2 separate regions of the Homo sapiens genome follow, and region 2 is linked to region 1. The links are contacts of gene promoters, found by promoter capture Hi-C in blood cells and fetal thymus (Javierre and others, 2016). All regions are on one chromosome and are shown on one strand. Each heading gives the region's core, a stretch centred on a gene start or on the middle of the fragment in contact. The rest is flanking DNA. Distances are from core to core; before and after follow the strand shown. Region 1 holds the start of ZFAND5 (zinc finger AN1-type containing 5). Region 2 overlaps KLF9 (KLF transcription factor 9).

Region 1 (4,191 bases), core at 702-3,201:
CTAGAAAATAGCTGCTAAAAAGGAATCTTGGTATGTTTAGGTCCAATACCTGCAACATTCTTGATTGAAACAGTCTCAGAGAAAATTATAAATGGGTGATAGAGAAGATGAATTATCAGAAGGTGACATAATATTATGGAATACACTATTCAATAATGAGCTTGCCTCATTACCCTTAGACTTTTTTTAAAGTATGCTTCTTCAGGAATTATCTTGTTTCACTCACTATAACTCCAATTCTAGAGAAAGAAAAAAATTCAAGTTAAAATTCAAGTTATTTTTGTTCTCAATAATAATCACCTCCATTGCCTCCCTGCCCTTCAGTGCCCTGGGCAAGCCTTTTTAGTCATTGTTTCTTTATCTGTAGAAAGGGACATGATAATAGTACCTATCTCAGTGAATTGCTGTGAGGATAAAATGAGACCCTAAATGGAAAATAGTTGGCACTGAAAATGGCCTGTAAATGGTAGCTGCTATTTTTTTTTTTTTTTTACTAATTCATCTGCTAATTTAAGGAAATAAATTGCAGTGGTCGTGGGACCAGTGACCCAAACTACTTAAATCTCTAATACATTAATTGATCACAGTAATAAACCCGAATTTGTTAAAAAACAAAACAAAAGGTTGTTATGCTCCAGGTACTTTGCTAACTGTGGCGGAGAACTGTTTGATTTGGCAGTGGTGGCTCAAGCTATCAGTATAGCATTCCCCCAAATACAGATTATAAATAAGGACCACCTGAAGCGCAATATGGGCCCCCCCCCACCCCCGCTCCCACCCCGGAACAACCAAAACCATATCCAGGGGAGATGCGTAGGAATCTTTAATCACCCCAGGTGATTTTTTTTCTGATTACCAACTTTGAGAAACACTGAAGGGACCTCTTCTCCATTCTATATGTGGCTAATATAAACCCTAAACATCATTTCTATGTATTCGTTAGACCGTTGTTTACTAGAAAATTTCAGAAGTCCTTTCCGACTTAGTAATTTTGTTATTTTGAGTTGAACTGAAATTCACTTGGAGCGGTCAGTTGAAAATGTTTTTTGTTTGTGCTCTGAAAAGGTTCCCAGTGTTCCGGGTAAAGTCATCCTTTCACCCATGGGGGACCTGTGCCTCGTGCCTGAACTGCCCGCCTAGTACCTCCCCCCTTGAACTTCCTCTCGCAAGCCTCCTCCTCCCGCTTCATCTGGGCCTCGGGTCTAGCTTGTTTTGTCCCTTCGCGGCTTTTGAGTAGAACATTTGGTGCTTTCCCAGTTCACGACGCTTTGCTGGAATCGTCAATTTCCAGGGATTTCACAGGCTGGCCAAAACAGTTTGTTCAGAACAGCGCCGCCGGGGCATTGGCAGCCCTGGGCGGCCGCGCGTTTCCTCACTCCGCACAACCACCCGTGACCTTGGGCGAGCGAACGCACGCCGCCAGCTGCGTCAGGGCCACGCTCGGGCTGGACTTCGGAGCTCAAAATGGGTGTGGGGAGTGAGGAGGTTTCATAAACAGAAAAGACCTCGAAGCCATAAGGCAATTCTTTTCCTTTTCTGGGGGTGAATCCTTACGATTCTTGGGGGAGGGAATGTCTGCCCAGGGCTGGAGACAAAGCGTGAGAACTAGGATGGCGAAAAACGGGTTTGAATGAGAAAATCCGAAGGAGGGAGGCTGAGGGCGGACAATTGGGTTAAAAATAGAAACGCATCCTCCACAGGACTCGCTCTTCCCAGCTCCACCCTAGGGGCCGACTGCCAGGCCAGTGGCTGGGCTCCGCGAGAAGGCACAGCAACCCGTCTCGGCCCCGCCTCCTGGACCTACTGACAGGGCACCGGGGGCGTGGCCTTGGGCCCGCGACGTCACCGCGCTCCCCGCCGCCGCCGCCGCCGCCGGGGTTTTCGCTGACGCACGGGTCCCGCCCCCTCCCCCTCTTTTCCCTCACAGCCCGGGCGCCGGGCGGCGAGTGCGTTAGTCGGCCGGGACGCGGAGCTGTGTGCATCTCCTACGCGGGCTCGCTCGCTCCCGGGAGCCGCGCAGCTTCCCCGGCGGTGGCAGGAGCGGCGAAGAGCGCCATCAGCGGGCCCTTACGGCCCCAGGCCTCGCGGCGCGCGGTCCGCTCGCCCTCCTCGTCCGCCCAACCTGCGGCCTGTGGAGGCGTGAGGCGACGACAGGCGAGCGCCTCGAGCAGCGTTAGCCGCTGCGGCCGCCGGTCCTCCCTCCACCTCCTCCTCGGCCCCCCCTCGCTTCCCTCCTCCCACTTCCCGAGCTCCGGCGTGTCCCGGCCACGCTCGACGCTGCTGCAGGAACAAAGGAAGACCCCGCGGCGGCGGCGGCGCCACCTCCGCCTGCTGCTCCGACCCGCTCCCGGCCCGCGGCGGCGGCACCAGGGCGCCCGGCTCAGCCTTCCCGGAGGCCTCGGCCCGGCCTCATCGTGCCGGCTTCGCGCGCGAACCCGGCTTTCGCATTTGGGACCCTGCAGGGTGAGTGATACGGGGCTGCGGGTGGGAGCCGGGCTCCTTGTTGCCGGGCCGGGGGCGGGAGTGAAGGGACCGGGGCGCCGCGGGCCAATGGCGAAGCCGGAGCAGGCCGCGGATGGCGGCGTCCGGGGGAGGGGAGCCCGCCCGCCAGCCCAGGAAGCACAAAGACGGAGGCGTCATCCTGTCGTCGTGGCCCGAGACCTGGCTCCCGGCGTCCCTGGCTCGCTCCACAGCACGGTCGGGAAACAATGCACGGCGTGCCGCCTCTGCGGGGCCGGCCTCTAGGCCGCTCGCCTCCGCGGCGGCGCCCGGCGTGGGCACCACGACCCAGAGAAACAAAGAGGCCGAGGCGGCGGCCGCGCCCCCTGCCCGTTGCAGCCCCCCCTAGCTCTCCCCTAAGAGGAGCCGTTCGGGGTCGGGGGTCGGGGGTCGGGGATCCGCGTGGGGCCTGCAGGCGAAGGGCTGGCCGGGCCTGCTGAGCTGCTGTTCTGCATGACTCAGTGGTTTTCGGAGAGGGCCCTGTTGGGCTTTATTGAGTGAGGCCTTTGCTTAGAGGGGGATGGGGTATCAGTGGGACCCGAACTTGTTCCAAAATCCATTGGAACATGGGGCCGGGGGTTCTCGGCGTCGTCTTTTGGGCTTCTCGACGTCGCTGCGTTTTTATCCTGAGATCCGTTTTCATGGAGGAAATGGAACACCTCCTTTGTTTGGTGCATTTAGGCTGATGAATGTGAAATTTTTTGCTCGCTTTCCACGCACTCCGTGGAGGTGTGTTTTCGGGGAAGGGTCGGATTATCTTTATTGATTGAGTGTCTCCTAAGGGATAGCATCTAAGGAGATACCAAGATAAAGGAACATATAGGTCACACATCCCCGTTCTTAAACCTGGGATTTAGATACAGACTTCTAAAAACATAAACGAATGTATTTTATTCCTTATTTTTAGGATTTTTTTTAAAGAGTAGGCTTTCAGAACTCAGTTGGTGAAAATACTGCAATTTTATCTTTGAAGTTTTTTGTTAAAATGTTTCCCCACACCCCCCTAAAAAATTAAGGATTCTTTGTAGTTGTCTCCTGTTTTCTATCTCCCAGGCCCTGAAAAGGAGCCTTTAAAAGTCAATTCTACTCCATTTGGCAAAGAGGGAACTGAAATCTGGAAAGTAAGGACTTGCCCAAGGTCACTGACTTAGTGGCAGACTAGAGACTTGAACTCAGGTCTCCATTCCCAGGTGAGTGGGAATTCATGCCATCTCATCACATCATGTGCACCTGAAAGAACTGTATTCCATAGGTGTAAAAGCTCTTTGTTCAGAATTGGAATTGGAGAATTGTTCAGTTACACTCGGGTGTTTTTTTAAGCTGTAAGTTAGAGGAAGCCATAAACTTTATAAAATCTGCATTCTAGCTATACCTGATAGAGCTGACACGTGCATGCTCAAGTTGCTAATTACTTTAAAGGCAATAAATAGTAATGGTATTTTTTTCTAAAATACAAGGGGAATGCAATACCTAATGGGAACACACATCCCCCACTTCATCCCCTAAATCCTCACTAAATGAGGATTCTTTTTTACACTGTCTCCACTGTGCTTAGTTTTTTATCAACAACCTTGACCATTTTAGCTTTGACTATGCTTTCATCTTCTAGATTGAGATTGTTCTGTAGTTTTTCCTACATTAGGAAAAAACTAGCAGCCCTTTTTTTGTTTTCTTATGTTAGATATATGAACG
Region 2 (4,518 bases), core at 743-3,242, 2.0 Mb after region 1:
TTAAATATTTTCGTATTTATTTCTTGGTCATTAGTATTTTATTTATGTATTTATTTATTTATTTATTTTGAGGCAGCGTCTGGCTCTGTTACCCAGACTGGAGTGCAGTGACACAATCTCAGCTTACTGCAACCTCTGTCTCACTGGTTCAAGTGATCCTCCCACCTGAGTAGCTGGGACTGTAGGTGTGCACCACACAGCCTGGATAATATTTGCATTTTTAGTAGAGATGAGGTTTCGCCATGTTACCCAGGCTGGTCTCAAACTCCTGGGCTCGAGCAATCTGCCTGCCTCGACTTCCCAAAGTGCTGAGATTACAGGCATGAACCACCACGTCTGGCCAGTATTTCTTACTTTATAAATTATTTATTTGCATCCTTGCCCACTTTTATTAAGTTGGGCTGTTCCTTTTTGATTTGCAAGTCCTTTCTGTGTTACAGATTTTAACATTTTGTCATATGCTTCAATTTCTTTTAATTTATTTTGATTCTTAAATTTTTCTACTTATATATATTTTTAACATGCAGAAGTTTAACATTTTTACGTATTCAAAACTATCCTTCAAGTAGGATTTTGCTTTTGGTTTCATGTTTAGAAAGTCTCTATTCCAGGATTCTAAAAATGCTCACCTATATTTTATCGTTATGGCTTTATTTTTTACATTTACATTTATAGCCCATTTGGAAATCATTTGAGTGAAAAGTATGAGGTAGGGACTAAGATTTAATTTTTTTCTTTTACCTGACATCTAAGCCACTTACTGAATTAAACATTTTCTGTTTCACTGATTTGAAATACCCCATTTACCATGTACAGAATCCCTATAGATTCTTAAGGTTATTTTCAGACCCTACTCTGTTCCACTGATTTGTCTTTTCCTGTGCTGCTATCTCACTATCTTAATTATTACAGCTTTAATAATCCATTTTAATAACTAGTATTGCAAGTGCTCACTTATTATTTGTTCTTCCGCAAAATTTTCTTGGCAAGTTGGGCATGTTTATTCTTCCAAATGAACTTCAGAAATAACTTTGTCAAGTTCTAGAAAAAGAAATTCTTACGGTGTGTGTTAATTCCGTAGATGAATTTGTACAGAATTGCCATATTCACACCATTGAGCCTTACCATCCAAAGGCATGGCAAGCATTTTGTTTGTTCATTTTCTTTTATATTGAGGCTTTATGCATTTCTTCACCAAGGTCCTGAACTTTTATTGTTAGGCTTATTCTGACTGGTTATGGCTGGCATATAAGAAAGCCAGTGCTCTTTTGTACAGTTACATCTGTGAATGCACCTTTAATTTAGATTAGATTTTTCAGTTATCTTGAATTTTTTCAAAGAGAAAGTTGTGTCAACTGCAAATAATTCTTATTTTATAACCCCCCCTTCTTCTCACCATTTACTTCTTATTTTATCTAATTGCACTCATTAGTATTTCCTGGAAAATGTTAAATTATAGCAATGGGAGCGGGTGTCCATTTATGCTTTGGGCTAGACTTTAGTAGTTATACTACCTTTATTTTACTGTTGACCTTGCAGAGGAAAGGTTTCAGAGCTGATCTTTTATACTGCTGAGGAATTATTTTATTTTCCTGAAAGCTTTTATTAGGGATGGTTGTTCAATTTTATCATATACTATTTTGTACACGATAAGAGTGTGTATATGATATTAAATGATACTAAATGTGTGTGTGTGTGTGTGTGTATGAGCTGTTAAATGGGGGAATAATATCAGTATGATTTAATAATATCAAATTGTCCTTTTTAAAATTACATTTCTTTTGTAGAGTTGGGGTGTTACTGTGTTGCCCAGATTGGTTTTGATCTCCTGGGCTCAAGCAGTCCTCCCATCTCAGCCTCCCAAAGTGCTGGGATTACAGGCGTGAGCTACCACAGCCAGCCCAAATTCTTCTTTTATCTATGGAATCCTAGTGCTGTTTTTGCAATCAGAAACCACTCTTTTTTTTTTTTTTTTTTTTGAGACAGGGTCTCAGTCTCACTCTCACCCAGGCTGCAGTGCAGTGGCACAATCATAGCTCACTGCAGCCTCAACCTTTGGGCTCAAGCAATCTTCCCGCCTCAGCCTCCCAAGTATCTGGGACCACAGGCAAGCACCACTACGCCTGGCTAATTTGTTGTATTTTTGGTAGAGATGGGGTTTCACCACATTGCCCAGGCTGGTCTTGAACTTCTGTGTTCAAGTGATCCATCTTGAGCGGCTGAGCATTATTTTTCTTCTAGAAGAAGTCTTGATTTTCTACATCTGCAAGAAACTTTAATTCTTAATTGGCACTGTTTGAGCTCTGTTCTGAAAAGGAGGCCTAAATCCCTTAGATTTGTTTTTTACCAGATTGGTTTACTTTTGCTAGATGCAATGGAAGCTTTTGATTTTGTATTTTTGACTTTCCTGTCTCCATTAAAGTTAGACCCATCCCTGGACTTGGGTGGGGCAGGGAAGATGAGAAGAACCAGGTAGGAAAGAGACGACATTCAGATGGCAGGCCTCCCTGACCCCAGGCAGGACTTCAGTGGCAGCCTGGACAGCTCAGGGAGTCTGGGGAGGGTTGCCTATGTCCAGTGAGCAAGCTTGGCACTTGGCAAGTACCCGGTCTCTGTCTTCTCTATGGAGAACTCACCTCCATTCGTTTCAGGACTGCCCACAAAAAAATGGGCTTCATTTGGCATCATCAACTAATCAGCAGTCGAGGAGGCTCCCTCTCAAAAGCAGCAAGTGTCCTTTTGTGCTAAGTAGGCAAGCACATAGCCAGGGGGCCCCAGTCCACTGTTCTTGCACCCTCCGTAGGCCCAGGAGAATTCTGGAGGCCTGATGACTGTCTCTGCAAAGGAAGTCTTTTACACATTGTGCGCAGTGTTCAGTAGCTTTTTTGATCACATTTATTTTATACTCTGAGCTGAGTCAGTCAGCAAGAGGTGCTTAGCTTGTTACTGAAAGGGGCGGGGAGTGGTATATAAATAATGAGAACTCAGAGAAACTTGTGCTGTTAACAGCTCTGCTCCAGTAAAGTGGAGTTTATTGTGTCACTGCCTCTGGGTGTGTTTTCCTGTGAAGGCCAGAAATAATGCAGTGGTACAAGTGTGTTGGGTATTTTTTTCCCTATCCCCAGGAGGATGGTAACTCTCTCATTAATACTAAAGACAGGTTTAAAGATTCTCTAATTGATAGTTGCATTGCTGTGTGATTTGTTCAGCGTGAAGGCTGACCATTCTCCTTTAGACCTTAGCACCGAGCCTCAAAGAGAGGGCCTGACTTGGTTTCCCCCAGGCTGCCAGACGAAGGTGGAGTGACCGTCTCTCTAGGCCAGTCCTCTCCTCCTCTGTAGATCATCTCTGGTCCCATTCAGCCTTAATTCTGTTCTCGTCTACATGTGACTTCCCCATTCCATGCTTTCTTAAGTGCAAAACATCTATCATTTTCTAAATAATACCTTATTATATGACTGTCATTAACTTATATGCTGGGATGTTAGATTCAACATCATGGCATGTTAGATCCAAACTCTCCACTGTATTAAAAAGGTGGGAGATTTTTCAAAGGGCTACAAATTGTAGGTCCCTAAGCAGAATCCAGCCTGCGTACACACCACTGGGTGGCACCATAATTTATAATGTTGAAATTGAATGCCTCTAAGTAGGGGAAGCACCCTGTTCAGTTCACCATGGAATCCATTATGATCCATGATTGAATGCACCTGCTCCCACCCTGTCCCCGACCTGTGTCTGGCTCCTGAAGACATTTGAATTTACAAATTCTGGTGGCCAGTTAGAAGTTCAAGTCCTCTGTTATTTGTTTATTTACTTGAGACAGGGTCTCACTCTGTTGCCCAGACTGGAGTGCAGTGGCGTGATCTTGGCTCACCACAACCTCCGCCCCTCGGGTTCAAGCGATTCTCATGCCTCATCCCCAGTAGCTGGGATTATAGGTGTGCAACGCCACACCCAGCTTCAAGTCTTTTGATTGAGATCAGGAATCAACCAACTTTTTGCAAAAGGTCCTGATAGTAAATATTTTCAGCTTTGCAGGCTGTACAGTCTCTGTGGGCAACTGCTCAACACTGCTGTTTTGAGAATGCAGCTGTAGATAATACTTAAACCAATGAGCATGGCTGTTTCCAATAAAACTATATGCAGACAAGGAAATTTTAATTTCATATAACTTTCTCCTGTCATGAAATATTCTTTTAATTTTTTTCAACCACTTGGTAAAAACCGAATATAAGAATGGTATAAGCTATTCTTAGCTCATGGCAGGCCAGATTTGGCCAGTGGGATGTGGATTGCTAGCCCCTGATTTAGATCACTGACCAAAAAGTTTTTAAAGTTTTCCAAAGGATGCCAGATAAATCAAAATGATCCCGGGCCTTTTATACTAGCAACTCACTTCCAAGCAGATCTTTTTTAAATGCGTAAAAATGGTAAACTTGAATTATACAAGTTACATGAGTCTAACGAAGCTTCTATTTGCTCTTGATTTTCTCGGGGCTCTGTGGGTGTCCCTCT

The links. The method cuts DNA at HindIII sites, captures the fragments that hold promoters and counts their contacts. A CHiCAGO score of 5 or more calls a contact.
Region 2: a fragment that was not itself captured here is called in contact with the fragment with the promoter of ZFAND5 in region 1 in 1 of 17 cell types (naive CD8 T cells); the score reaches 5.1 in naive CD8 T cells.

The regions. Positions count from the first base shown.
Region 1 is chr9:72,362,968-72,367,158 of GRCh38, reverse strand. It overlaps ZFAND5 (zinc finger AN1-type containing 5), which reads left to right and starts at 1,951. Exons shown (of 7, transcript NM_001102420.3): 1 at 1,951-2,463; 2 at 3,553-3,689. RefSeq lists silencers at 1,713-2,092, 2,103-2,932 and enhancers at 1,540-2,244, 2,245-2,948. The HindIII fragment of the contact is 8,298 bases long and covers 1-4,191 here.
Region 2 is chr9:70,391,486-70,396,003 of GRCh38, reverse strand. All of the region lies in intron 1 of KLF9 (KLF transcription factor 9), which reads left to right. LOC124900273 (a long non-coding RNA gene) reads left to right here. Exons shown (of 2, transcript XR_007061576.1): 2 at 1-2,947. Among named protein-coding and RNA genes, the nearest start is that of KLF9-DT, 20 kb to the left of the region's middle. The HindIII fragment of the contact is 782 bases long and covers 1,602-2,383 here.